Regions from separate parts of the Homo sapiens genome. Here region 2 is linked to region 1. Evidence: promoter capture Hi-C in 16 types of primary human blood cells and fetal thymus (Javierre and others, 2016). All regions are on one chromosome and are shown on one strand. The core of a region is centred on a gene start or on the middle of the fragment in contact, and the rest is flanking DNA. Distances in the headings are between cores, read along the strand shown.

What was found. The method cuts DNA at HindIII sites, captures the fragments that hold promoters and counts their contacts. A CHiCAGO score of 5 or more calls a contact.
Region 2: a contact is called between a fragment that was not itself captured here and the fragment with the promoter of MRPS16 in region 1, in 3 of 17 cell types (erythroblasts, megakaryocytes and endothelial precursors). The highest score is 6.3, in erythroblasts.

The regions. Positions count from the first base shown.
Region 1 is chr10:73,249,033-73,256,328 of GRCh38, forward strand. MRPS16 (mitochondrial ribosomal protein S16) reads right to left here and starts at 3,612. Exons shown (of 3, transcript NM_016065.4): 1 at 3,438-3,612; 2 at 2,731-2,991; 3 at 1-1,959. The coding sequence starts at 3,450. The coding sequence ends at 1,820. CFAP70 (cilia and flagella associated protein 70) reads right to left here. Exons shown (of 28, transcript NM_001367801.1): 28 at 4,730-5,023. The coding sequence ends at 4,943. All of the region lies in intron 2 of DNAJC9-AS1 (DNAJC9 and MRPS16 antisense RNA 1), which reads left to right. RefSeq lists enhancers at 3,331-3,898, 3,338-3,627, 3,748-4,007 and a silencer at 6,694-6,869. The HindIII fragment of the contact is 1,832 bases long and covers 2,736-4,567 here.
Region 2 is chr10:73,606,877-73,614,172 of GRCh38, forward strand. It overlaps a transcript of USP54 not described here. Among named protein-coding and RNA genes, the nearest start is that of USP54, 19 kb to the left of the region's middle. The HindIII fragment of the contact is 1,863 bases long and covers 2,168-4,030 here.

The DNA.
Region 1 (7,296 bases), core at 2,362-4,861:
CTCAGCTTCCCGAGTAGCTGGAACTATGGGTGAGCAACACCACAGCCAGCTAATTTTTTAAGTTTTTGTAGAGACGGGGTCTTGCTGTGTTGCACAGGCTGGTCTCAAACTCTGGCTTCAAGTGATCCTTCCACCTCAGCCTCCCAAAGTGCTGAGATTACAGGTGTGAGCCACTGCCCCAATGGTATCTTTATATTATTTTTCCTTACAAGTTACTTCAAATTCTTGATGTTGAATTTCATCTCACTGACTTCAGGCTTTTAAAACACATGGGAATACTTGAGACCTAAGAATGGTTGTGAGTCAAATAAAAAAGTAGAACTAAAGTATACTGAAGTTATTCAAATACATTCAAACTATAAAGATCCCTTATAGATTACTGGCATCAAGGTAGGAAGGAAAAGATACAAGAAGTAAAATGCAACACTCATTACAGGTTGTCAACATTATTGGTATACAGTTTATCCTAACACAGAGCAGCCTTCTTAACCTGCTCCATAAAATTACCAGCAAGAAAGAAAAGTACAAGAATAAGGTTCACAGCTGAATTGGCTTGGTGTCCTAATTCCCTATTCCAGTATTCTCAGAAGGATCCCATCTATGATATATGCAGAAATCACAGCCACATTTGAATGGTTCAATCTTGATTCATACTGAACTCCCTTAAGCCCAGCAGTTTCTCATTCTTAAAAGGTAGGTTATTAGAGCCCCAAAGCAATTTTCATAACAAATCTACCTTTGTATATTTAAGAATATGCATTAAGGCTAGGAGTGGTGGCTCACGCCAGTAATCCTAGCACTTTGGGAGGCCGAGGTGGGCAGATCACAAGGTCAGATTGAGACCATCCTGGCCAACACGGTGAAACCCCATCTCTACTAAAAATACAAAAATTTGCCCGGGCGGTGGCTCACGCCTATAATCCCAGCACTTTTGGGAGGCCAAGGCGGGCGGATCACGAGGTCAGGAGATCAAAACCATCCTGGATAACATGGTGAAACCCCATCTCTACTAAAAATACAAAAAAATTAGCTGGGTGTGGTGGTGGGCACCTGTAGTCCCAGCTACTCCTGGGACTACTCGGGAGGCTGAAGCAGGAGAATGGCATGAACCCAGGAGACAGAGCTTGCAGTGAGCCGAGATCGCGCCACTGCACTCAAGCCTGGGCGACAGAGCGAGACTCCTCTCAAAAAAAAAAAAAAAATTAGCTGGGTGTGGTGGTGCATGCTTGTAGCTCCCCGGCTACTCAGGAGGCTGAGGCAGGAGAACCTCTTGAACCCAGGAGGTGGAGATTGCAGTGAGCTGAGATTGCACCACCGCACTCCAGCCTGGCAACAGAACAAGACTCCGTCTCAAAAAAAAAAAAAAAAAGAGAATATGCATTAGGCAAGACAATATAAACCTCCAATTACAAAAATCAATTAAGAAAGGTTAACTGTTCTTGCACTTGTGGGATGAACATGAAGATCTGAATGGGCCATGAATAGTCTGGCTGGGGGTTTTGAAGCAGGAAGTCTTGGAAGCCAGTAAATTGTAAAGTTGTCCAAGAGACCCAGAGCCCAACTCAAAAGTCCAATCCTCCCATAGCCACTGTCTATCCCAAGACAAAGTCGAAAAAAGCTAATTAGTACCCACACCCAGCTCTAAGTCACACAAGAACAAATCTCTCCCTGGGCCCTGTGCAGGCCAGGCCAGAAGAGCAAGGGCAACTCAGGATACTCCATTTATTGAACTCCAAATCTAACAAAATTAAGATCGCTGCAGTGTTTCAAAAGGACCTTGACCTTGTTCCCACTGCTATGCTCACTAAAGTCAGCTCATTTATGTTTCTGTAGCCTCTGTATCTGTAGCTTCTGCATCTGTTTTCTGAGAAGCTAACAGGACTTCACGTGCCCGTTTCCTTCGCAGTCTCTCAGCATTTGTGATCATCATAGGATGCAGAGGGAAAAAGCCAGCAAGACCTAAAAGTAACAGATTTTTCACTTATTATAACACAGTATAAGCCAATGCTTCCCTAGGAACTCTGTCTCACAGAACTGAGGTCTGAGATCTGACCCAGTGCATGGATGCAAACCATGCTCCTCACTTGCCAAACTCTGTACTACTTCTCCCCGGCAAGGAGACAGTGGATGTCTACTTCCCTAACAATATTCCCCTTACTTTAAAAAACGTAAACTGACAGATGGCCATTCAAAACATACTATTCCTATTTTTAGCATAAAATACCAGTCACCCAAAGTCTTACAAAGGAGTCCACAAAAGGGGCCTCCAGATTCAAAATGCCAATTAGATCACAACTTCAGCTCCCACTTCAGTCCTGAACAGCCTAGAGGGAATGAAATAACTCTTTTTTTTTTTTCTTTGAGATGGAATCGCCCTCTGTTGCCCAGACTGGAGTGCAGTGACGCGATCTTGGCTCACTGCAACCTCCGCCTCCTGGGTTCAAGCGATTCTCCTGCCTCAGCCTCCCCAGTAGCTGAGACTACAGGTGCGTGTCACCACGCCCAACTAATTTTTTTTTTTTATTTTTAGTAGAGACAGCGTTTCACCATGTTGGCCACTCTGGTCTCAAACTCTTGACCTCAGGTGATCCGCCCGCCTCGGCCTCCCAAAGCGCTGAGATTACAGGCGTGAGCCACCGTGCCCAGCCGAAAATCATTCTTACACCTACTGTCCTGGAGCTGACTTCAGTTTAAAATCCCCTCAATAAGGTAAGACCAGAGCTGAGTTACCCAGAAGCTTTTCCATAGGCTTAGAGAGGTGGGCCCCGCAGCCAATCCAATGACGGATCCTGTCTAGGTTGAGGGCAACGAGTTTTTCTCCATGACTGTTGGGCAATGGATCATAGGAGCCCAGCTGCTCTACGAAACGGCCATCCCTGGGACACTTGTTGTGAGCAGCCACAATGCGGTAGAACGGCCGATTGGTGCAGCCACCCAGGGCAAGGCGGATGGTTAAGTGGCCCCCACGGTAGGCCTTGCAGAGGAGAGTAGCTGTAGAAAAGCAGCTGGTTAGGACACAAAAAACAGCACAAAAAGGACAAAATGACACAGACGGCACAATTCCCTTTTCCCACTGAAATGTCTCACTTCCAATCCATTCCTGTCAATCCAGTTTAGATGCTACTCTTCTTTGTGAAACCCCTCTTGGCCAGTCCAGCCAGCAATGACCTCCTCCTCATACCCAAACCCACCCCGCATGGGCTTGCCATTCACTAGGCTCTGTGACCTTGTCGGAGCCTTAGCTGCTTCAATGGGGTGGAAATTTTTCAGCGGTGATTAAGTGGGGAAAAAACTGAGAGAAGGATCAAATGTAAGGCAGTGTGGCTGCTTCAGGTTCGGGTTGCCTCCATCGCGCCTGGGAGAGCTCTCCCCACCCGGCCCCGAACTCCCGAGCCCCGTGACCGCCCGGAACGTCTCGCGGTGGCCCGATGACTCACTGAGGTGGACCATGGTGCCGCCGGCGTGCGGCTCCTCGGAGAGCCCCGCTACCCGCACGCACCAGCTCTACGGCCTTGGCAGGGCAGAGAACAAACACAGAAAGAACCTGCAAGCCGACACCAGGCCGCACCGCCAAGCGGTACAAGCCCGAAAACCTCGACTCCGGAAGCGGATGATCCGCTCGCCACGCCTCCTCCGCTTGCCGCCCTATACTTCCCACAATGCAACACGGTGACCCCTAACGTACCTTAAACTGCTGCAAAAGAGGCGTTTCTCGTGGTGTCTTGTGGGAGTGGCGGTGCGATCCCTCTCAGACTTGTGAGTCCCTGCTGGAGTCAGAAGTTTTAGGCGAATCCCAGGCGCGCCAAGGAAAGTGCTACAAAAGCCATCCATCTTGCAAGCGTTGGTGCCGAGGCGCAACGCTGAGAACGCAAATACTAAAGGGCGCTGTTCTTTCCTCGTGGAGCTCACAGTCCGCTGGGGAGACCGTGAGATGACAGCAGAGAAACTAGCGCGATCAGTAGTACTCAGCGCAAGGACAGCGAGCAGAGAAGGCAAACCTAGTGCTTGCTAAGGAAGACTTCACAGAGGAGGTAGTGTCAGGGCCGAGACTAGGAGAAGGATTGTAAGTGACTAGATTTTACTTTATCCTTCTCGTTAACCAAAATTAATTTACCTCTCACCTTTTCTCCTGTTGTCGTCCCACCCCTATCGAGGCAGTCACACCTTAAAAAAAAAAGGAGGGGTTATTCCTGCTTTTGCCGTGCTGTGATCCAGGGCAGAGGTGAAGTATGATTTTTTTTTTTTTTATCTGTAGCCCTAGAATATGACCTCGGTGATGAGGGTAACGGTGTCTCCTTGGAGCCCTAGTGGTTTAGATCCATGAAGATGCCTGTGTTTGGTGAGAAGGTGTCAATAGCTCCACCTTCAGCAAAGACCTCTCTGTTCAGCTTTTTCGTTTACTGTTAGTTCCAAAGGGCTAGCATGCTCTTTGCCCTAATACAGTGACCCAGCATAGCAGTCTTCCTCCAGGGCCACCTTTGAAAATGATGCCTTAATTCCTGTATTTCAGTTAACTGAACCTGTCCAGAAACCTTAGCACCTGACTTCCTCCAGGAGTGATCCAATAAGCTTTCATCAGAAACCCTAATAATGACCCCACTATACCTTAATTTTATTGTATGTATATATATGCCATATAATTATTATAGCAATTACACTATAGTTATTTATATAACTAAATACCTACATGTAACTCAGTATACGTTAACTCCAGAACCATGCTGATGAATTTTGAGTTTCATATCTCCATTTTTTTATTGTGACCCAGTTTCTCGTCAACCAGTAAAACATCCAGTAACACAGCCAATGGAAATAAATGAATGGGTCTCTGTTTATAGTGAAGATTCTTTCGTTCTCCAGCTCCAGGCTTCATACGGTAAAACTCTCTGGGAAGGAAAGGAACTCAGAGTCCCATGCAGAAAATTGTTCAGCTGGAGGGGTATCAGAAAGATGGATTTCCAAAGCCAACTGTTTCCTGTAGTGTGTGGATCTCTGCAAGCAGAGCCTCATCTTTCAATTTCAGCTACATGAAAGAGGAAGAAAGGGAAAGATATATGTCATACGTGATATACTTTATGTGGCTTTGAAGACCCCTCTTTTGTGGGGCTACGGCTAAAGAACATAGTTCCCTGGGATGGAATTGGCTCTTCCTATTTCCCTACTTCATGAAAACTCCAGTAGAAGACCTTAGAACCTTGTCCTGGTTACATGGATATGTTTACTTTGTGAAAATTCATCAAGCACTATGCACGGTCATGATTTGTACATTTTTTTGTAAGATAACTTCATTAAAATTTACTTTTTTTATTTTTAAAAAGTGTTCACATTATTACCAGCATCTCTTGGCTAATGCATAGTATTCCCATCTGGCAAGTGATATCAGGGAATCAGAGACAGAAATCATAGGCTTATATTAGATCTGGTTTTAGTTTTAGAATCTAGATATGTAGTAGAGACATCTAGGAGCCTACAGAATACCTATTTTTTCTTACTAACAAAATCTTAATTTCTTTTCAAGGCAGTAATGCAGTCAGCTAAAAAGCCACATTTTCCTGCTTCCCATGCAGCTAGAGGTAGTCATGACCAATTGCCACCCAATGAAATGTAAACTAAAGTCATTGGGTAGGACACCTGGAGAAGCCCTTTATTTAGGGAAAGTCCTTTAAAGGGAACTGAAGTAGCATGGCCCCTTTTTCCTTTTCCCCTTATTGTTCTTTATCTTGCCTGAAACATGAATATGATAGTAAGCTACGCTGGCTGTCTTGCAACTATGAGGGATAGAAACTGCAGGCTACAATTGGTGGAGCACAAAGATAGATTTTGGGTCCCTGATGACATTGTGGAGCTGCGGTACGAGCCCTGGACTTTTCATTAGATGAGAAAAAACTAATTTGTTTAAACCACTGTCTTTCAAGTCAAGTTACTTGCAATTCATAACTAATAGAACAGGCCAGGCATGTTGGCCCCCACCTGTAATTCCAACAGTTTGGGAGGCTGAAGTGGGCGGATCACTTGAGACCAGGAGTTTGAGACCAGCCTGGCCAACATAGCAAAACCCTGTCTCTATGAAAAATACAAAAATTTGGCCAGGCGTGGTGGCTCACGCTTATAATCCCAGTACTTTGGGAGGCCGAGGCGGGGGGATCACAAGGTCAGGAGATCAAGACCATCCTGGCTAACACGGTGATACCCTATCTACTAAAAATACAAAAAATTAGCTGGGGGCAGTGGCGGGCGGCTGTAGTCCCAGCTACTCAGGAGGCTGAAGCGGAGAATGGCCTGAACCCGGGAGGCGGAGCTTGCAGTGAGTGGAGATTGCGCCACTGCACTCCAGCCTGGGAGACAGAGCAAGACTCCATCTCAAAAAAAAAATTCAGCTGGGCATGGTAGCACATACCTGTAATCCCAGCTACTTGGGAGGCTGAGGCACAAGAATCACTTGAACCGGGAGGTGGAGGTTGCAGTGAGCTGAGATCGTGCTACTGCACTCCAGCCTGGGCAACAGTGCAAGACTCTGTCTCAAAATATATATGTATATGTAACTGATAGAACAGACCAGGGGTTGTTCATGAGCCAATCCAGCTCACTACCTGTTTTTGTTTGTTTGTTTGTTTTTGAGACGGAGCCTCAGCCTCCAGAGTAGCTGGGACCACAGGTGCCCACCAAGACGCTCGGCTAATTTTTTTGTATTTTTAGTAGAGACGGGGTTTCACCATGTTAGCCAGGATGGTCTCCATCTCTTGACCTTGTGATCTACCCACCTCAGCCTCCCAAAGTGCTGGGATTACAGGCGTGAGCCACCATGCCTGGCCACTACCTGTTTTTTTGTAAGTAAAATTGTATTGGAACACAGCCATTCACTTATGTATCACCTATAGCTGCTTGTGTACTACAAGTGCAGAGTTTAGTAGTTGCAACAGACTGTTTGGCCTACAAATCCCCCAAAATTTCCTATTTTGCCCTTTACAGAAAATGTTTGCTGATCCCTAGACTAGACCAACCCCTACATATTACACGAGGAAAATGAAGCCCACAATATTATTAACACAGTAAGTTAATGGCAAAACCAGAATCATAATTCAGGTTGACTGACTCCCAGGCTATCTTTCTATTAACTATTATATATTCTCTCTAAAGAGCTGGAAGAAAGATCACCTATGGTAATATGTAGGTTGTTATTACAAACCCAGCAGCCCCACGATAATGGCAAAGATGGTAAGAAAAGCCTCTAGAAAAATATTCACATTATGAAAGTCCTGAATTAAGCCAGTACCTCCCTCCTAATTTCCCACCCTT
Region 2 (7,296 bases), core at 1,849-4,348, 360 kb after region 1:
TCAAAAAAAAAAAAAAAAAAAGAAATGGACCAATAGGCATCAAATTCATTACTCCCAACTACCTAACTGAACAGTTTCATACAACTGAAAAACCTAATATGTTCAGGGCAGCTAATATATTTCTAGAGGCAGGAATTAGAAAGTAAATATTGACCAGGCACAGAGGCTCATGCCTGTAATCCCAGCACTTTGGGAGGCCAAGGTAGGAGGATAGCTTGAGCCCAGGAGTTTGAGACCAGCCTGGGCAACATGGTGAAACCCCATCACTACAAAAAATACAAAAATTAGCCAGGTGTGGTGGCATGCACCTGTAGTCCCAACTACTCAGGAGGATCACTTGAGTCCAGGAGGTGGAGGCTGCAGTGAGCCATAATCCTGCCATTGCACTCCATCTTGCAGGACAGTGAGACCTGGTTTCCACAAAATCATTCCTAGAGTTTGCTTAAAAAAAAAAAAAAAAGAAAAAAAAAAATAAACAGAAAGAAGACTTAGCCTAAAGAACATAGTCTCCAAATACAAAGGATGGTAGCTTAGAAATAAAAGTCTTTAATTATTTGTCATATTCTATACAAAGTTTGAAGTCTGCATTAAGTTATTAAGAGCCCCATTCCTGAGGCTTATTATTCAAAAGGGTGGAAATACGAAAACTTTAATTTTAAAAACTAAGAAGTAGGCCGGGTACGGTGGCTCGCGCCTGTAATCCCAACATTTTGGGAGCCGGAGGAGGATGGAGAGCCTGAGCTCAGGAGTTCAAGATCACCCTGACCAACATGGTAAAACCCTGTATCTACTAAAAACGCAAAAAATTTCCCAGGGATGGTGGCATGCACTGTAATTCCAGCTGCTTGAGAGGCTGAGACACGAGAATTGCTTGAACCCGGGAAGCGGAGGTTGCAGTAAGCCAAGATCACGCCACTGCACCCCAGCCTGGGAGACAGAGCAAGACTCCGTCTCAAAAAAAAAAAAAAAAAGAAAACTAAGAAGTAATCCTTCAGAGGAAGAAATGTGCTTAATTGAGTAGTAAGGATTAAATGAGTTGCAGTGTGCGAAGTGTTAAGCCTAGCTCCTGCCACACGATATTACTCAACAAGTTATTCAGATTTGGCCGGGCACGGTGGCTCATGCCTATAATCCCAGCAATTTGGGAGGCCAAGGCGGGTGGATCACGAAGTCAGGAGTCCAAGACCAGCCTGGGCAATATGGTGAAACCCTGTCCCTAACAAAAATACAAAAATTAGCCGGGCATGGTAGCGCGTGCCTGTGGTCCCAGCTACTTCAGGGGATGAGACAAAAGAATTGCTTGAACCCGGGAGGCGGAGGTTGCAGTGAGCCGAGTTCATGACACCGCACTCCAGCCTGGGCAACAGAGCGAGATTCCATCTCAAAAACAAAAAAAACAAAAAAAAACAGTTATTCAGACTTTCTCTATTGTCTCATTTCCCTACGTTTCCCTCTTATACCAACATAACCAAAATGAGTTTGACTGTTTTTAACACAAACATGAACAATATTTGAAATAACTGTATACATTTACGAGTAATTTTACAATCACTATCTTTTAAAACTTAAATCAGCTCAAGGAAGGGAAAAAGAAAACTGAAATTTAGAGTCCCTATAACATTATGGCTACTGTGCTAAGAACTGACATCTATCACTTCATTTAATTTGCTCAGGTAGGTTATTATTATCCTAATCTCACAGATAAGGGAAGTGAGGTTCAAAAACATTTAATAATTTGGCCAGGCTTGGTGGCTCATGCCTGTAATTCCAACATTTTGGAAGGCCGAGGTGGGCAGATCATTTGAGCCCAGGAGTTCGAGACCAGCCTAGCCAACATGATGAAACCCAGTCTCTACTAAAAATATAAAAAATTAGCAGGGCATGCTAGCGCGTGTCTGTAGTCCCAGCTACACAGGAGGCTGAGGTGGAAGGATCACTTGAACCTGGGAGGTGGAGGTTGCAGTGAGCCAAGATCCCAAGATCACAGCACTGCACTCCAGCCAGGGGGACAGAGTGAGACTTTGTCTCAAAAAATAAGTAAAATTTATATGGAAAGGCATAGGCCCTAGGAATATGTATTATAGATATCAGTAAGTACTCCAAAACACTGAGGTGTCTAAAGCTTAATTTGGTAATTACAAAGTTTCTTATATCAAGCTGTAAAATAAGCTTGATGTTTCCTTAGACCTAGTGGGCATCAGGAAAGGTGAAAACCCAATATTAAAATGATATTGCGTCTCCCTGGTGTTCCCCTAACACTGAAGGAACACATAGAATTCCCATTTGTTCCTAAATACCCTTCTGATCTTCAATGACCATGAGTAAAGATAAACAAGGAGTTGAAAGAAATGGCAAAAAAGAACCAAAGAACTATCTTGTTTTGGCACTATACAGCTCTGACTGGGGTCAACATCCAAGACAGGATGTACCATCAAAGGAAATGGATCTGCACAGAGAAATAAAAGCTCAGCCCGGGTCAGAAATGAAACAATGGCACACAAATAAGTTTTGTTTCCACAGAGAATACATTTTTCTATATAAACTTTACCATGAGGCTGGGTGCTGTGGCTCTCGCCTGTAATCCCAGCACTTTGGGAGGCCGAGGTGGGCGAATCACTTGAGGTCAGGAGTTCAAGACCAACCTGGCCAACATGGTGAAACCCTGTCTTTACTTAAAATACAAAAATTGCCGGGCATGGTGGCTCCTGCCTGTAATCCCAGCACTTTGGGAGGCAGAGGTGGGCGGCTCATGAAGTCAGGAGATCGAGACCATGCTGGCCAACATGGTGAAACCCCATCTCTACTAAAAATACAAAAATTAGCTGGGCATGGTGGCAGGCACCTATAATCCCAGCTACTCAGGAGGCTGAGGAAGGAGAAGCGCTTGAGCCTGGGAAGCGGAGGTTGCAGTGAGCCAAGATCATGCCACTGCACTCCAGCCTGGCTACAGAGCGAGATTCCGTCACAAAAAAAAAAAAAAAAAATTAGCTGGGTGTGGTGGCGTGCGCCTGTAATCCCAGCTACTCAGGAGGCTGAGGCAGGAGAACTGCTTAAACCTGGGAGGCGGAGGTTGCAGTGAGCCAAAATCACGCCACTGCACTCCAGCCTTGGTGATAGAGCAAGACTCTGTCTCCAAAAAAAAAAAAAAAAAATTAGCCAAGTGTGGTGGCACATGCCCGTAATCCCAGCTACTTGGGAGGCTGAGGCATGAGAATCACTTGAACCTGGGAGGCGGAGGCTGCAGTGAGCTGAGATCACACCACTGCACTCCAGCCTGGGTGACAGAACAAGGCTCTGCCTCAAATTAAAAAAATAAAAATAAAAAAACTTTACTGTGAAACTACATTATCTACAAGATGTTTCTTCAGAAATTTCTTCTCAGGAGAAACTTAGAAATTTTTCTTCCAAGACTTAATAATTGTCACTGACTTCCTGCCAGCTTTATATCAGAAACTTTTGGCCAGGCACAGCGGCTCACACCTGTACTGTAATCCCAGCATTTTGGGAGGCCAAGGTGGGCGGATCACTCGAGGTCAGGAGTTTGAGACCAGCCTGGCCAACATGGTGAAACCCCAACTCTACTAAAATTACAAAAATTAGCCGGACATGGTGGCACACACACCTGTAGTCCCAGCTATCTGGGAGGCTGAAGTGGGAGAATCGCTTGAACCCAGGAGGCAGAGGTTGCAGTGAGCCGAGTTCGCACCACTGCACTGCAGCCTGGACCACTGAGCAAGAACTGACATCTATCACTTTTCTGAGACAGTTCTGTCTCAGGAAAAAGAAAAAAAAAAGAAAGAAACTTTTCAAACATCCTAGAAAAAATGAACCTACACACAGGTCACAATAAAACAAAAATGTATTTTGCAAGAATACAATATAGCCTTACCTCAGCTTCTGTTTTCATTTAAAAACTCAAATGCTATTTGAAAAAAATGTGCTTTGTAGAACATGTTTCTTGCTTTCAACATGGCACGGGAAGGTAATGCTACCACACAGTGCCAAAACACTAAAATATGGCTTTCAGAAAAGCTTGTTAGTTTCATACCAACAATAATAGGGCTAGATTTCCTATTTGCAACAAGCTATGTAATGAATATAACAGCTTTTCCTTAAAAGTCACTTATCTATAGAGAATATTTATACAGACAAACTGAAATAAGAAAAATTCTAGAAAAGCAACAGTGAGTTTTTTAAAAAACATTTTTGTACATTCTACCATCATACCTCCTTAATATACAAATATTCATATATGTGCCTGATATAAGCCATAAAAATAAAATAATTCACAAATTTATTATATGAAAGTATCCCTGAAACTAAAATAAGTAAAATTTGGATAAGCTTTTCTACCAATATACTCTCTGGGAGAAAAAGACAGAAAAGTGAGCCTTAAAGTGAATTCCATTTTTCTACTACTTCTCATTAAATATTAAAAATGTGTCCATATTTTTTAATATTGATAAACTAAATTAAAAACCTTAGTGAAGTACAAGGTATGGTAGCTCCTATCTATAAGCTCAGCTACTTGGAAGGCTAAGGTGGGAGGATGGCTTGAGTGAAGGAGTTCCAGGCCAGCCTGGGCAACATAGTGAGAACCCAGATCTAGAAAAAATAAATAAATAAAAAATAGGCTGGGCGCAGTAGCTCACACCTGTAATCCCAGCACTTTGGGAGGCCAAGGCAGGTGCATCCCTTGACATCAGGAGTTCGAGACCAGCCTGGTCGACATGGTGAAACCCCGTCTCTACTAAAAAAAAAAAAAAAAAAATTAGTTGGGCATGGTGGCAGGCACCTATAATCCCAGCTACTCAGGAGGCTGAGGCAGGAGAATCGCTTGAACCTGGGAGGCGGAGGTTGCAGTGAGTAGAGATCACGCCACTGCACTCCGTCTGGGCAACAGAGCGGGACTCCATCTCAAAAAAATAGTAATAAAAATGAAATAAAATAGGCCAGGTGCAGTGGCTCACACCTGTAAATCCCAGCAATTTGGGAGACGAGGCAGGCAGATCACTTGACCTCATGAGTTCCAGACCAGGCTGCACAACACAGTGACAACTCATCTCTACGAAAAATACAAAAAAACTAGCCAGGCACGGTGGTATGCCCCTATAGTCCCAGCTACTCGGGAGGCTGAGGCAGGAGGATCACCTGAGCCCAGGGAGGTTGAAGCTGCAGTGAGTTGAGATCCCGCCACTGCACTCCCACCTGGGAAAGAGTTCGACCCTGTCTCAAAAATAAAATAAAATAGATAGACAGAAAACCTAATTTATCCTATATGTATAATTAAATATCAGATAGTTATTATTTACATATACTATTGAGGATTTTTAATCTGATCAATTTTATTGAGCTAGCTTCTCCCCAATTTTAAATGCAACCCCTCTAACTCAGATGGCACATAACTGTAAAAAACATTAAATGAATACCAGAATTTTATAGTCAAATCACATTTGTACCCAAAAGTAGGCTTTTTCCCCCTTGTTTTAATTCATAAATTTATTCAACAGACTTGATTTTACAAATTCCAGCCATCCTAGAATTTTCCTCATGTCAAGATATTACAAGCATTATAACAGCCTATTCTAGTGTTTTACTCACTGATGGTCAAGAGATTTCCCCTAAAAGTAAACAGCAAACTAGAAAAAACATTGCCAGCTATATGATAAAGAATATACTTGATGGCCGGGTGAGGTGGCTCATGGCTGTAATCCCAGCACTTAGGGAGGCCAAGGCTGGCACATCACCTGAGATCAGGAGATCAAGACTAGCCTGGCCAACATAGCAAAACCCAGTCTCTACTAAAAATGCAAAAATAAGCTGAGCGTGGTGGTGCATGCCTGTACCCCACTTACTCAGGAAGCTGACGCAGGAAAATCCTTGAACCCACGAGGTGGAGGTTGCAATGAGCAGAGATCTTGCCAAAGCACTCCAGCCTGGGAGACAGAGTGAGACATTGTCTCAAAAAAAAAAAAAAAAAAAAAAAAGAATATATTTGGCTGGGCGTGGTGGCACACACCTGTTATCTCAGCACTTTGGGAGACCAAGATAGCAGAATCACTTGAGCTCAAGAGTTTGAGACCAGCCTTGGCAACATGGTGAGGCCCCGTCTCTCCAAGAAACACAAAAAATTAGCCAAGCATGGTGGTGCGTGCCTCTGGTCCCAGCTACTCAGGAGGCTGAGGTGGGAGGATTGCTTAAGCCCAGGAGGTCAAGGCTGTAGTGAGTGGTGACCGTGCTACTGCATTCCAGCCTCTTTTTTTTTTTTTTTTTTTGGAGATGGAGTCTCACTCTGTTACGTAGGCTGGGGTACAGTGGCGTGATCTTGGCTCACTGCAACCTCCACCTCCCGGGTTCAAGCAATCCTGCCTCAGCATCCGGAGTAGCTGGGACTACAGGTGCATGCCACCATGCCCAGCTAATTTTTGTATTTTTAGTCAAGATGGGGTTTCACCATGTTGGCCAGGCTGGTCTCGAACTCCGGACCTCAGGTGATCCACCTGCCTCGGCCTCCCCCTCCCAAAGTGCTGGGGTTACAGGCGTGAGCCACCGCACCCGGCCTACCACCATTTTTTTTTTTGAGACCCTGTCACCCCCACCAAAAAAAAGAATATTTTTACTATAAAGAGATTCAAAACGTCAAAATAAGAAAAAAATTGCATATGCCAAAACAGAGATAGGCAAAGACGTGAACAGTTAGAAATATGACTATCTTGAAAACCCAAAAGGGCTGGGCGTGGTGGCTCACACCAAAACTTTGGGAGGCTGAGGCAGGCCGACCACCTGAGGCCAGGAGTTTAAGACCACCCTGGTCAACATGGTGAAACCCCGTCTCTACTAAAAATACAAAAAATTAGCTGGGCGTGGTGGCGCGTGCCTGTAATCCCAGCTACTCAGAAGGCTGAGAGGGAAGAATCACTTGAACCCAGAAGGCGGAGGTTACAGTTGAGCCGAGATTGTGCCACTGCACTCCAGCCTAGGTGACAGAGCAAGACTCTGTCTTGAAAAGAAAAAAAAAAAACACAGAAGAAAAAATTATAGTTAGCAAAAGGATTTAGTGGCTCACACCTGTAATCCTAGCACTTTGGAAGGCCGAGGAGGACAGGTCACTTGAGGCCAGGAGTTCGAGACCAGCTAGGCCATGGAGAAACCTCATCTCTACTAAAAATACAAAAATTAGTCACACGTGGTGCCATACACATGTAGTTACAGCTACTGGGGAGGCTAAAGTGGAAGGATCATTTGAGCCCGGGAGGTCAAAGCTGCAGTGACCCAGTATCGCACCACTGCACTCCA